4 separate regions of the Homo sapiens genome follow, and regions 1, 3 and 4 are each linked to region 2. The links are contacts of gene promoters, found by promoter capture Hi-C in human tissues and cell types (Jung and others, 2019). All regions are on one chromosome and are shown on one strand. The core of a region is centred on a gene start or on the middle of the fragment in contact, and the rest is flanking DNA. Distances in the headings are between cores, read along the strand shown.

Region 1 (2,700 bases), core at 31-2,530, 450 kb before region 2:
CTGAGAGATCTGTAAAATTACAAGTAATAAAAATGCATATTAAGATAGAACTTATCAGATTCCCAATAACAAAAAGACATTTTAAAGTCAGACAAGTAGGGTAAACAACAGGACATGGAAAACTGAGAGCTGAGTATGGGTACCAAAACCAATACATGGCACTGGCTGCAGTCTCTGGTCATCTGCTGTCTCCTGACTCCTACTATAAAGGAGGCTGGGCCGGGCGCAGTGGCTCACGCCTGTAATCCCAACACTTTGGGAGGTCAAGGTGGGTGGATCACTTGAGGTCAGGAGTTCGAGACCAGCCTGGCCAACATGGTGAAACCCTGTCTCTCTACTAAAAATACAAAAATTAGCCAGGTGTGGTGGCACACGCCTGTAATCCCAGCTACTTTGGAGGGTGAGGCATGAGAATCGCTTGAACCCTGGAGGCAGAGGTCGCAGTGAGCCGAAATGGTGCCACTGCACTCCAGCCTGGGCAACAGAGCAAGACTCTGTCAAAAAAAAAAAAAAAAAAAGAGGCTATTATCCTATTTCAGACATTTTAAGGTTACTGTAGAGTCACTATCTAGGAATCTACATGGCTAAAATCTGCTTGCTCTGCTATCCCCCCAACCCCTACAGCCACGCACACATCCTCCACTGATCTCAAACTTCTCAGGCACTTCATCTCCTTCCTTCAATGATCTCACCTCCCTTTCCTAGGCAAAATGCACACTGCAAGACAGGACATACTTCACCTTCCAGCATCAAACTTTCATCCACGGCTGCTCTGGCCATGTGTGTGAATTAGAAAGAGGCACTCTTTCCTCAAGGGTCTTTACTATCATTTGCCAGGAAACAGTCAAGGCCACTCTTCAGTTTGTCCATGGGCTGATCAACATAAAAAATCCCTGGCTCCTTCTCATCAATATTTAAACAAGCTTTGGCTGGGTGTGGTGGCTCGTGCCTGTAATCCCAGCACTTTGGGAGGCCAAGGTGGGAGCAACTGAGGTCAGGAGTTTGAGACCAGCCTGGCAAACATGGTGAAACCCCATCTCTACTAAAAATACAAAAATTAGCCTAGCGTGGTGGCGCGTGCCTGCAATCAGAGCTACTCAGGAGGCTAAAGTAGGAGAATCATTTGAACCCCAGTGGCAGAGGTTGCAGTGAGCCAATATTACACCAATGCACTCCAGCCTCGGCAACAGAGTGAGACTACATCTCAAGAAAACAAAACAAAACAAAAACCCCCCAAAACAAGCTTATGTTTCTCCAATCTTAAAAAATAATAATTAAAAATCATCATTTTCCTTTCAGAATCACTCTCATTTCTTCACAGACAACTTCTTGGAAGATTTGCCTATGTTCATTTATCTCCATTTTCTCACCATCACCCTCACTTATTCCTCAACTCACCACAAGCTGACCTTCTCCAGCCATTCCAAGGAATCTGCTCCAGGTAACAACAAAGTCTGCTCAGTCATCTCACTAATTTATCAGCAAAACTGACCTAATTACTCTTCCTGAAGTGCTCTTCCCTTGCTCCCTGCAATGCCGCATTTCCCTGGTTCCTCTCCTAGGGCTGCCTGCTCATCTTCCCTTTCTTTAGTAGAAGAGCTCTTGACACTCTGTCCTGCGCCTCTTTCCCAAAGGGTATTCTCTCCACCAGGCAATTTCTTCTAAGCTCCTGCTCTAGCACCATTCATATACAAGAATCTAAGGCACAGATTTCTAGCTCAGGCCTGTCATCTAAAAAATCAAACCAGGCACATCCATTGGCCTGTTGAGTTTCTCCCCTAGAAGACCTTCAAGGCTTAATATATGTAAAACCAAACTTCCCACACATCAGCTTCTTCTCCTGTGGTTCCCTTTTAGTATGTGATGGCCCAACATTCTCCCAGCTATCAGCCCAGAAGCCTGGCAGTCACCCCAACTCTGCAAATTTCACACACCCAATCCACCACCACCACTGCCGCCACCTGCTTCCCAATGATCTCTCTCTCTCCCTCCCTCCCTCCTGTATTCTTCAGCTGTGGCCTGAGTCCAAGTAACCAAAGTCAAGAAAAGCAGGGCCATGTACTCTGTACTCACCAGCCTGGTGCTTGAAACCCTCAACTATTGTAAAGTGGTTATGTTAATGAAAAGGGGTCCCCATCCAGACCCCAAGAGAGGATTCTTAGACTTTAAGCAACGAAGAATTTGGGGCAAGTTCAAAGAGTAAAGTGAAAGCAAGTTTATTAAAAAAGTAAAGGAATAAACGATTGGCTACACCATAGGCAGAACAGCGGCATGGGCTGTTCAACTGTGTATACGTTATTTATTGATTATACACTAAACAAGGGGTAGATTAGTCAAGAGTATTCTGGGGAAAGGAGTGGCAATTCCCAGAACTGAGGGTTCCACCCTCGCCTTCAGATCATATAGAGTAACTTCCTAACATCGCCATGGCATTTGTAAATGCTCATGGTGCTGGTGGGAGAGTCTTTCAGCAAGCTAATGTATTATAATTAGCATATGATGAGCAGTGGGGACAACCAGAGTTCACTTTCATTGCCAATCTTGGTTTTGGTGGATTTTGGCCGGCTTCTTTAAGTATCCTGTTTTACCAGCAGGGTCTTTGTGACCTGTATCTTGTGCTGACCTCCCTGTCTCATCCTGTGACTTAGAATGCCTAACCTCCTGGGAATGCATCCCAGCAGGTCTCCACCTTCTTTTATG
Region 2 (2,771 bases), core at 272-2,771:
CCAGCCTGGGCGACGGAGCGAGACTCCGTCCCAAAAAGAATAAATAAATAAAAATAAAAAATATTTTTGGTAAGTATTCTTAGTATTTTAAAACAAATCCCAGCCATGACATCATCTTACCCGTTAATTAAATGGCACTAATTAAATGGTGCTTGAAATATTACAAACATCTATGTTCGACCATACCACCTAGAGTTCTGGGCAAGAAGGTTGGGACCCACAGGTCAAGCCTAGCCCCTTAGTTTTACCATGAAGATAACTCAGGCCGTCGGAGAAAGTGGCCTGCCCAACGCAGGTGCTAGAGCGCGAACCAAGAGAAGTCGATCCTCCTGGTCTCCCCGGCTGCCTGGTGAGTGGCAGACCACAGGCTAGACTTCCCAGGCCCCGGCCCTGGAAGGGGCGGGGAACCCTCCCCCTCACTGCCAGCTGGAAGAATCCGAGCGGTCCCCGCACGCACTTCTGGAAGTGCAAGCCGGTAGCGCGGCGGGCCAGGGATACAGCCAAGTCCCGGGACGTGCCAGCTGCGGTAACTGAAGCCGGGTCCCGGGCGGGCGGGGGTACCAGGGACAGGAGTAGCCTTGGAAAGAGGAGAGGGCCTCCTCCCACGACCGTCCGGATCACCGCCTCTCCGCCGGCACCCCCGGGGCCCATGCCGCGAACAGGCCGGCGAGGCTGGCAAGGTGCCCGGGCCCGGGGCGGAAAGCAGGAAGTCGATCCCGCGGGCGCGGCCCAGGGTGCGGCGCTGCAGATGCAGCACGGGGTCGCGGGGCGGGCGCCCAGTGCACCGGAGGAGGTGAGCGCCAGGTCGCCTTCGCGGCCCGGGGACACAGGCAGGGACGCGGGAGCTGATGCGGCTGGACCGGCCGGGGAAACAGTATTTTCTGGAAGGGGTAAGAGATGCTGTCTTGAGCCTTTGGAATCTCGGATCCGGGCCGCCCAGAGGACCTCGACAGGAGCACAGGGAGGACAAACTGAAGTCCGAGAGAGGCGGCGTGGCCTCCGGCCTCGGGGAGCGCTGCCGGGGGTCTCGGGCTTGGGAGAGGGCCTGGGGGCGGTGAAAATGGGGGGAAAGGAGGGGACCACAACATTGTTATGGAAGAGTGAGCTCGGATTGGCAGAGGGACGCGGGGCTGCAACGCGAGTCTCCGGAGGTGGAGGGGTCCAGGCTGATGTAGCGCCGCCCGGGTCCTGGGTCGGGGTTCCGGGAAGTGGACCTGCGAGCCAAGCCTAGCCAAGTCGGGGGACGGAGGCTCCGGGGCGGACGGAGCTGAGGGTGGGCAGGCGAGGTTGATGGAGCCCTTCCAGGAAGCAGGGCGAGGCTCAAGCACCCAGAAAAACCTGTGGCTGCCGAGGTCCCCCGCCAGCAGCGGGCAGCGGAGCGCAGGGGCGGGGCTGGGGACTGGCGAACTCCGCCTCTCTGGGGCTGTCGCTTTAAGGGCAAGGCGGGGCGTGCGGGCCCTTTAAGGCCACGTGGGGGCGTGTCAGGAAGTGAGTCCAGGGCCCGCCTCCCGGGGAGTCGGCCTCGGATGTCCGGAGGCTCCTGGGCTGAGCCGGCGACAGAGCCCGGGAAGGCAGCGAGACGTGGGCGCCGGCCCAGCCCCCTCCCGCGTCCTTCAGCCCCAAGCCCCGAGCCCCTCTGACCCTTCCGCAGCCCTCCCTCCAGCCGCGCCCGGCCTCCGGCAGCTCCCTGTACGCCTCCCTCCCCCTGCCCGCCCCTCCCTCCCACAGCCGCCCATGACGCCCTCTCGGCACCTCTTCCCACTCTGCCACGCGTCCTTTTCCTGCACCTTCGCCCCGCGTACCTACTCCTGCCCCGCCCTGCCATTCCTCTCCCCTCCCTTCTCTCTGCGACCCCTCCCTGTTAGGCCCCAGCCTCTTCTCCCCTCACAGGTCTTCTCTGTCCTGGCCTCACCGCCTTATCCTATTCCTCTCCCTTGCCCTGTGTCTTGTCTCAGAGCCCCCTCGGGGTGGGAGTAGGTTGTGGAGCAGCACAACTGGGCTCACCCCAAAGCAGAACTTCTCAATCCATGAGGACAATGGGGAGGCCTTTAGGCCAGCCCACATGTGACAATGGAGGGCTGCGGCTTCCTTGCGGAGAGCACAAGTGAGCTCACTGCCCTGGACTCCAGGGAATCAGAGTTCTGGCCGCGGGGTGACCCAGCTCCTCTGCTACCATGAATAGGGCCCCTCTGAAGCGGTCCAGGATCCTGCACATGGCGCTGACCGGGGCCTCAGACCCCTCTGCAGAGGCAGAGGCCAACGGGGAGAAGCCCTTTCTGCTGCGGGCATTGCAGATCGCGCTGGTGGTCTCCCTCTACTGGGTCACCTCCATCTCCATGGTGTTCCTTAATAAGTACCTGCTGGACAGCCCCTCCCTGCGGCTGGACACCCCCATCTTCGTCACCTTCTACCAGTGCCTGGTGACCACGCTGCTGTGCAAAGGCCTCAGCGCTCTGGCCGCCTGCTGCCCTGGTGCCGTGGACTTCCCCAGCTTGCGCCTGGACCTCAGGGTGGCCCGCAGCGTCCTGCCCCTGTCGGTGGTCTTCATCGGCATGATCACCTTCAATAACCTCTGCCTCAAGTACGTCGGTGTGGCCTTCTACAATGTGGGCCGCTCACTCACCACCGTCTTCAACGTGCTGCTCTCCTACCTGCTGCTCAAGCAGACCACCTCCTTCTATGCCCTGCTCACCTGCGGTATCATCATCGGTGAGTGGCAGCTGGGGCCACGGGGGATAGAGTGGTCATGGGGACTGAAGCAGTGAAGAACA
Region 3 (2,700 bases), core at 60-2,559, 430 kb before region 2:
AGGCAGGGTCGTTTCTTTAAGCCTTTGTGGGTGGACTGTCAGCAAAGGCAGTTTCTGGCATGTCCTTGTACTGTGTTGATGAGTGGTATCAAACTTACCTTCACATCAGCCTCACTTGGTTGGTGCTGATTTAAACATACATATTCCCAGGCCCTTCCTCAGGCTCGCAGAATCAGAATCTCTGAGGGAAGGGCCCAGAAGCCTGCATTTTAACAAACTCTTCAGGTGATTCTGCTGCAGGCATTCAGGGAACTACACCTTGGAGACCCCTGGCAGGTTTCTAATGGGTTATCTGGGAAACCAGGGGGAAGGGGCAGTCAGGAGGAGGAGGGGGCCAGCCCAACCGCCCTTAGCATGCATACCCTGTTATGCTTTTTGACTTAGACTTGGGAGCAGATGCTTTTAGATGTAGGTCTCCTTAGAAACAGATGCTATCCCTGTTCTAGAATATAGAATAGAGTAGTTCCCCATCCTCTAGGTGTGCTTCATTTGCTGTCCACCCACTCATCCATCTCTCGACCCACTCACCCACCCATCCATCCACCCACTCTTTCATCCACCCACCCACCCACCCATCCATCCACCCACCCTTTCATCCACTCACCCACCCACCCACACACCCACCCATCCTTCCATCTACCCATCCTTTTTGGAGTGACCACCTGCTTTGTGTCTGGCTCTGGGCTGAGCTTTGGAGACACCAGAACTCTCCATTTAGACAAACAGACACAGAAATCATCATAATACAGAGGGACCTGTTCAATGATCAATGTCTCGAATAAGTACTGTGGTGGCACAGATGACAGACTCCACTGGCAGGGAGAAGGGATCAGAGAAGGCTTTGGAAGACAGCAACCTGTGAGTGGGCCATAAAGGACAAACAGTTTGCTAGATGGAGAGTGTGAGCGTGAGGGTGTGTAGGAGGGAAAGTCAGTTTTGCGAACTAAATCCTCTCACATCCACATTCAGAGCAGGGGCCTATCCCCAGGCCCCATGGAGCCCGTATTCGGAGGCTTATCTGTAGCTGCAACCTCTAAACTTGGCCCCATCTCCTGACATTTCTGAGTGAAAAGGAGCCACTCTTTAGTGTGTGTGCTGCAGGCTCCTGTGGCTGTCACAGTACAGTTATTGCGGAATTAACAGGGGAACAGCCATCCAAGTGGAGAGGCACAGAATACTTCCTGTCCTAGCTCTGCCTTCAACTCACTGTGTAACTGTGGACAGTTTCGGCCTCAGTTTCCCCATCATCAAGATGGGAGATTGGCTGTCAACTCTGCCAGCTTCCTGCCTGGAGCGCAGCCCTGACACCCTTCCTGCAAGATACACGTTAGCAACGACCGTTCTCTCTACGCCAAGCTCATTTGTCTGAGCGTATCAGCAACACGACACCTCGCAGTTCAGTGGATTTGATGTGAGCTCCCGCCCCTGGCATACCTAGCGTGTAATACCTGCTGCTGAAAAGGGGTATTTGAAGGCAAAGTGCATGGCAGAAGGAAGCCTGTAGGTGGCGCTATGGCTCCGGTTGCCGAGCTGCTCCCAGGAGATTCGTTTTCAGAGGATCTGAGAAAAACCCGGCAGGGTTGATGGCAGCTCTTTCTTCTCGGTGCCCTCGCAGTGCAGCAGGCCCCGCTTATTTGCAAGAAGCAGCCAGGTCAGCCCACTGGGCCTCCCCACCTCTTGTGCCCCTTCGCACATTTCAGAGCTCTCTCTTTTCCTCTGGGTCCTTCCATTCAAGAGAGGAGGAGGAGGAGGGGGTGAGCCTGTTGCGAACGGCGTTGGTGGGGCAGGGGCCGGTTCCCCTGTTTCTGGGGAGCCTTTTCTGTGCTGGTTGCAGGCAGGGGCCCTCAGTGTGGAGCTGTGGTGAGCCTGTGCCCCGTCGTATTTGGGTCACAGCCTCCGTGACCCCTAGCCCCCGCCAGGCACTCCACCCCTGCAGTGATTCGCTTGATATTTTAAAAGCACTCCATCTTCTGCCTGCTGCCTTCTCTCCATTCATCTGGGTCCAGGTTTTCGCCGAGCCATCTAATAAAGAATCCAGGGGGGAGAATGATGGGGGCGAGGAGAGGGAAAGTGCTAACATTTATTAAGTGCCCGCTGGGTGCCCAGCACTTCCTCAACAACTAGAGCAGCGGTCTTTCTGCTTTCTTTCAGCTGCATAACCCTTTCCTCCATCCAAAATCGCAAGCCTAACCTGGCCGTGTAAACAAACACCAGGGAAGCGCCTCTGATGGAAGGGGATGGGGCACCTAAGGCCCTGTCTCTCACCATGTAGCATCCTCCCCACTCCTAACAGACACTTTGGTGCTTCCATGAAACCTGGATCTAAAAGCTCTGTGCTCATTAAATCTACATATAACTCTCCAAGGAAATAGTATCCCCATTTTTATAATACCAAGCTAAAGGCCAGAGAGGGAGAGTGTAGGATCACACAATTTTTTTTTTTTTTTGAGATGGCGTTTCACTGTCACCCAGGCTATAGTGCAATGGCGTGATCTCAGCTCACTGCAACCTCCACCTCCCTGATTCAAGTGATTCTCCTGCCTCAGCCTTCTGAGTAGCTGGGATTATAGGCGCGCGCCACCACGCCCAGCTAATTTTTGTATTTTAATAGAGACGGGGTTTCACCATATTGGCCAGGCTGGTCTCCGAGCTCCTGACCTCAGGTGATCCGCCTGCTTTGGCCTCTCAAAGTGCTGGGAT
Region 4 (2,700 bases), core at 201-2,700, 470 kb before region 2:
ACACAGCCTACATTTAAGACAGGAAGTAAGGAGCAGGGGGAGAGAAAAGACTTTCTTCTGCCGTGATTCCTGTGCCCAGAAAGAAAATATTTCCCGGAAGCCCTGCAGGAGGCTTCTCCTATCTCATTGGCCGGAATGAGGTCACATGGTGGACCCTGGACCAATGCCTGCAAAGGACCTACCCTTCCTGAGATGAAGGGATCTGGCCTTCTAACAGAGACAAAAACCAGGGCTCTGTTAGCATGAAAGAAAGGGGGCAGGGGGCACGTGCCGACCAAAATCATTAAGACCCCTTGCCTAATAGCATCTCCAGGTTCCAGTTGCATGAGCCTTTTCAGAACTTAAATTTGAAAGCTTTTCGTTGACATATTTTCTCCACTTCAATCCTCTCTCTGGAACTCAGGATGTATTTCTGAGCGATTTTCTTCATTTATAATTTTTTTTATTTGGGCTTCCTTATTTATATTTATTTATTTGTTCATTTTTTTGAGATGGAATCTTGCTCTTTTGCCCAGGCTGGAGTGCAGTGGTGCGATCTCGGCTCACGGCAATCACCACCCCCGGGTTCAAGCAATTCTCCTGCCTCAGCCTCCCGAGTAGCTGGGATTACAGGCACCCACCACCATGCCCAGCTAATTTTTGTATTTTTAGTAGAGACGGGGTTTCACCATGTTGGCCAGTCTGGTTCTTGAACTCCTGACCTCAGGTGATCCACCCACCTCGGCCTCCCAAAGTGCTAGAATTACAGGCATGAACCACCGCGCCCGGCCCCTTCCTTAAGTTGCTTGATTTGAGATGTTGCTGTTCATGATGTTTCTCCATACCAGTCCTTAATTTTGACCTCACCTCTGCCTCCATGTGTGAGAAGGTTGAGTAGGAGGCGGGAGGTGGTAGAACGTTCCAGGGCTTCAGCACAGCCGGGCCTGCTCCTGGCAGGGCAAAATAGATGAGGCGTTCACCAGGACGGTTAGACTGAAATCCTGTTTGGCCACTGAAAGCTGAAGAGGCAACCTCGTGGACTGTTTTTCAGTTATGTACCAGTCTGAAAGGCATTGGAGGAAATGTGGAAATGCATCCAGCAATGCAGCTACTGTTCACTTGAGTTAATAGAAGAGGGAGCAGAGCTTCAAGTGCCAAATGGAAATAATTTTGTAGATGACTTGAAAAGAAATTTAGTAAGGACTTAAATCCGAAATCATAGCCTCCTTGTTGTTAGAAAGTGAGGGAGTTGCAGTTACAGACACAAAGGAAAACAGCACAAAAATGGAAGGAAAGCCAAAAGGGCCCACGCAGAAAATTTAACACAGGATCAGAGGCCCCAAGAGAGAAGCAAAATCCTAATACACATCCTCTATCCGAGAAGCAGATGGCAGCTTAGAAGGAAAATGCGGTAAGAGATGGCAGGCCACAGTGTTTCTGGAAAGGAGGACCGTCCTTGAATTATGACCTCTTCTTAATTTTGGGGTGGATTTCCTGATGGAGGGTGCTTTTTGAACATTCTGTACCTGAGGTCTTTTTTTGTGCTAAGGAAAAATAGGAAAATGAATTCGAGTTCCCCTAAACCAGAGTGGGGTCGCTCATTCCTAACAATCAAGATTCAAAGAGAATGAAAAGATGCAACCCTCTGTACCTTAGTTTCTGCATCTGTAAAAGAGAAATTAGTGCCTGTGTGACTCAGTTGGGCACACATTCCTATTCCTTCTAGACTACCTTCCTGCACTCTAGAAACTGCAAAACTGAAAACCAAATTTGAGACTCCTTTGCAGCTAGAGTGCAGGCACATGGCCTGCTTTCCACCAACCAGTTACACTCATTCAGGACTTGCATGTGGAAGTGAGTGGTGCAAGAAGGCTGGGAGCCTGGACCTGCTGGAAGGCACAGAGGCAGGGGTGCTGGGTGTTCTGGGAAATTGGGAGGAGTTTTGACTTCAGTCCCAAACATCATGAGTGTCAGTTAACAGGTGGAAGCAGCAGAGGGCTCTCTGAACAGCTCTGCAGAGAGTGGGGGCATTTTAAGGGCTTGGCTGACTCTGTTGTCCAGGTCTGTCCTGGTCTGAGTACCATTTAAGCTTGATTCTGTGGTCCCCCCAAAAAAGTCCATTAAGTATTTAATAAATACATTTTAATAGATCTCTGTCAGCATGAACTTGCTAATGTGGACTCTGTTGCCTGCAACCAAGGACCTTGGCCTTAACCACACATAAAGCATTAGATCAGTTCCTGGCACGTGGCAAATCCTCACTATATATTAGCTACCATTCTGTATTATTTGAATGCTCTACAAAGAGATGGTACATCTGCTCTTATTTAGCAAGCATAGGTGTTAGAGTTCATCAATTTCTTTCAAAAGGAAGTGAACGCGCACATTACTCTCCCCTGGGAGTGCAAAACTCAATCCTGCCAACTCAAGGTAAACTGTCACTGTCAGGTGCTCTCAAGCTCTGTCAATTAAGGCTCCTTCCCCTCTGTCCTCTCCAGGCATTGGTGGTGTGAGGGGCACTCCCCTTCCCCTCATCTAGTTCCCTCCTACGGAGCATCCGAGGTTGATGTAATTTGCCAGGCCTGTGTATTGATGTCTGATATCATCTGCATTCACTGCTGTCACAGCCACTGCCACTCTGTCTTCCCTCATCAGGTACCTAAGCGTCTGCACCCCCTGCGTCCCATTGCTAGGCCTCTCCAGGTTCACCCACCAGCTTTC

The links. The method cuts DNA at HindIII sites, captures the fragments that hold promoters and counts their contacts. A contact is called where the count stands out against the background at its distance.
Region 1: a fragment that was not itself captured here is called in contact with the fragment with the promoter of SLC35C1 in region 2 in 2 of the 25 tissues and cell types used here (lymphoblastoid cells and psoas muscle).
Region 3: a contact is called between a fragment that was not itself captured here and the fragment with the promoter of SLC35C1 in region 2, in 1 of the 25 tissues and cell types used here (thymus).
Region 4: a fragment that was not itself captured here is called in contact with the fragment with the promoter of SLC35C1 in region 2 in 2 of the 25 tissues and cell types used here (bladder and heart right ventricle).

What each region holds. Positions count from the first base shown.
Region 1 is chr11:45,352,433-45,355,132 of GRCh38, forward strand. No RefSeq gene overlaps it. Among named protein-coding and RNA genes, the nearest start is that of LINC02696, 1.6 kb to the right of the region's middle. The HindIII fragment of the contact is 6,284 bases long and covers 1-2,700 here.
Region 2 is chr11:45,803,628-45,806,398 of GRCh38, forward strand. It overlaps SLC35C1 (solute carrier family 35 member C1), which reads left to right and starts at 1,522. Exons shown (of 2, transcript NM_018389.5): 1 at 1,522-2,709. The coding sequence starts at 2,175. RefSeq lists an enhancer at 317-476 and silencers at 647-816, 1,547-1,776. The HindIII fragment of the contact is 31,315 bases long and covers 1-2,771 here.
Region 3 is chr11:45,369,884-45,372,583 of GRCh38, forward strand. It overlaps LINC02687 (long intergenic non-protein coding RNA 2687), which reads left to right and starts at 1,514. Exons shown (of 5, transcript NR_122071.1): 1 at 1,514-2,700. The HindIII fragment of the contact is 5,980 bases long and covers 1-2,700 here.
Region 4 is chr11:45,333,737-45,336,436 of GRCh38, forward strand. No RefSeq gene overlaps it. Among named protein-coding and RNA genes, the nearest start is that of LINC02696, 20 kb to the right of the region's middle. The HindIII fragment of the contact is 4,338 bases long and covers 1-2,700 here.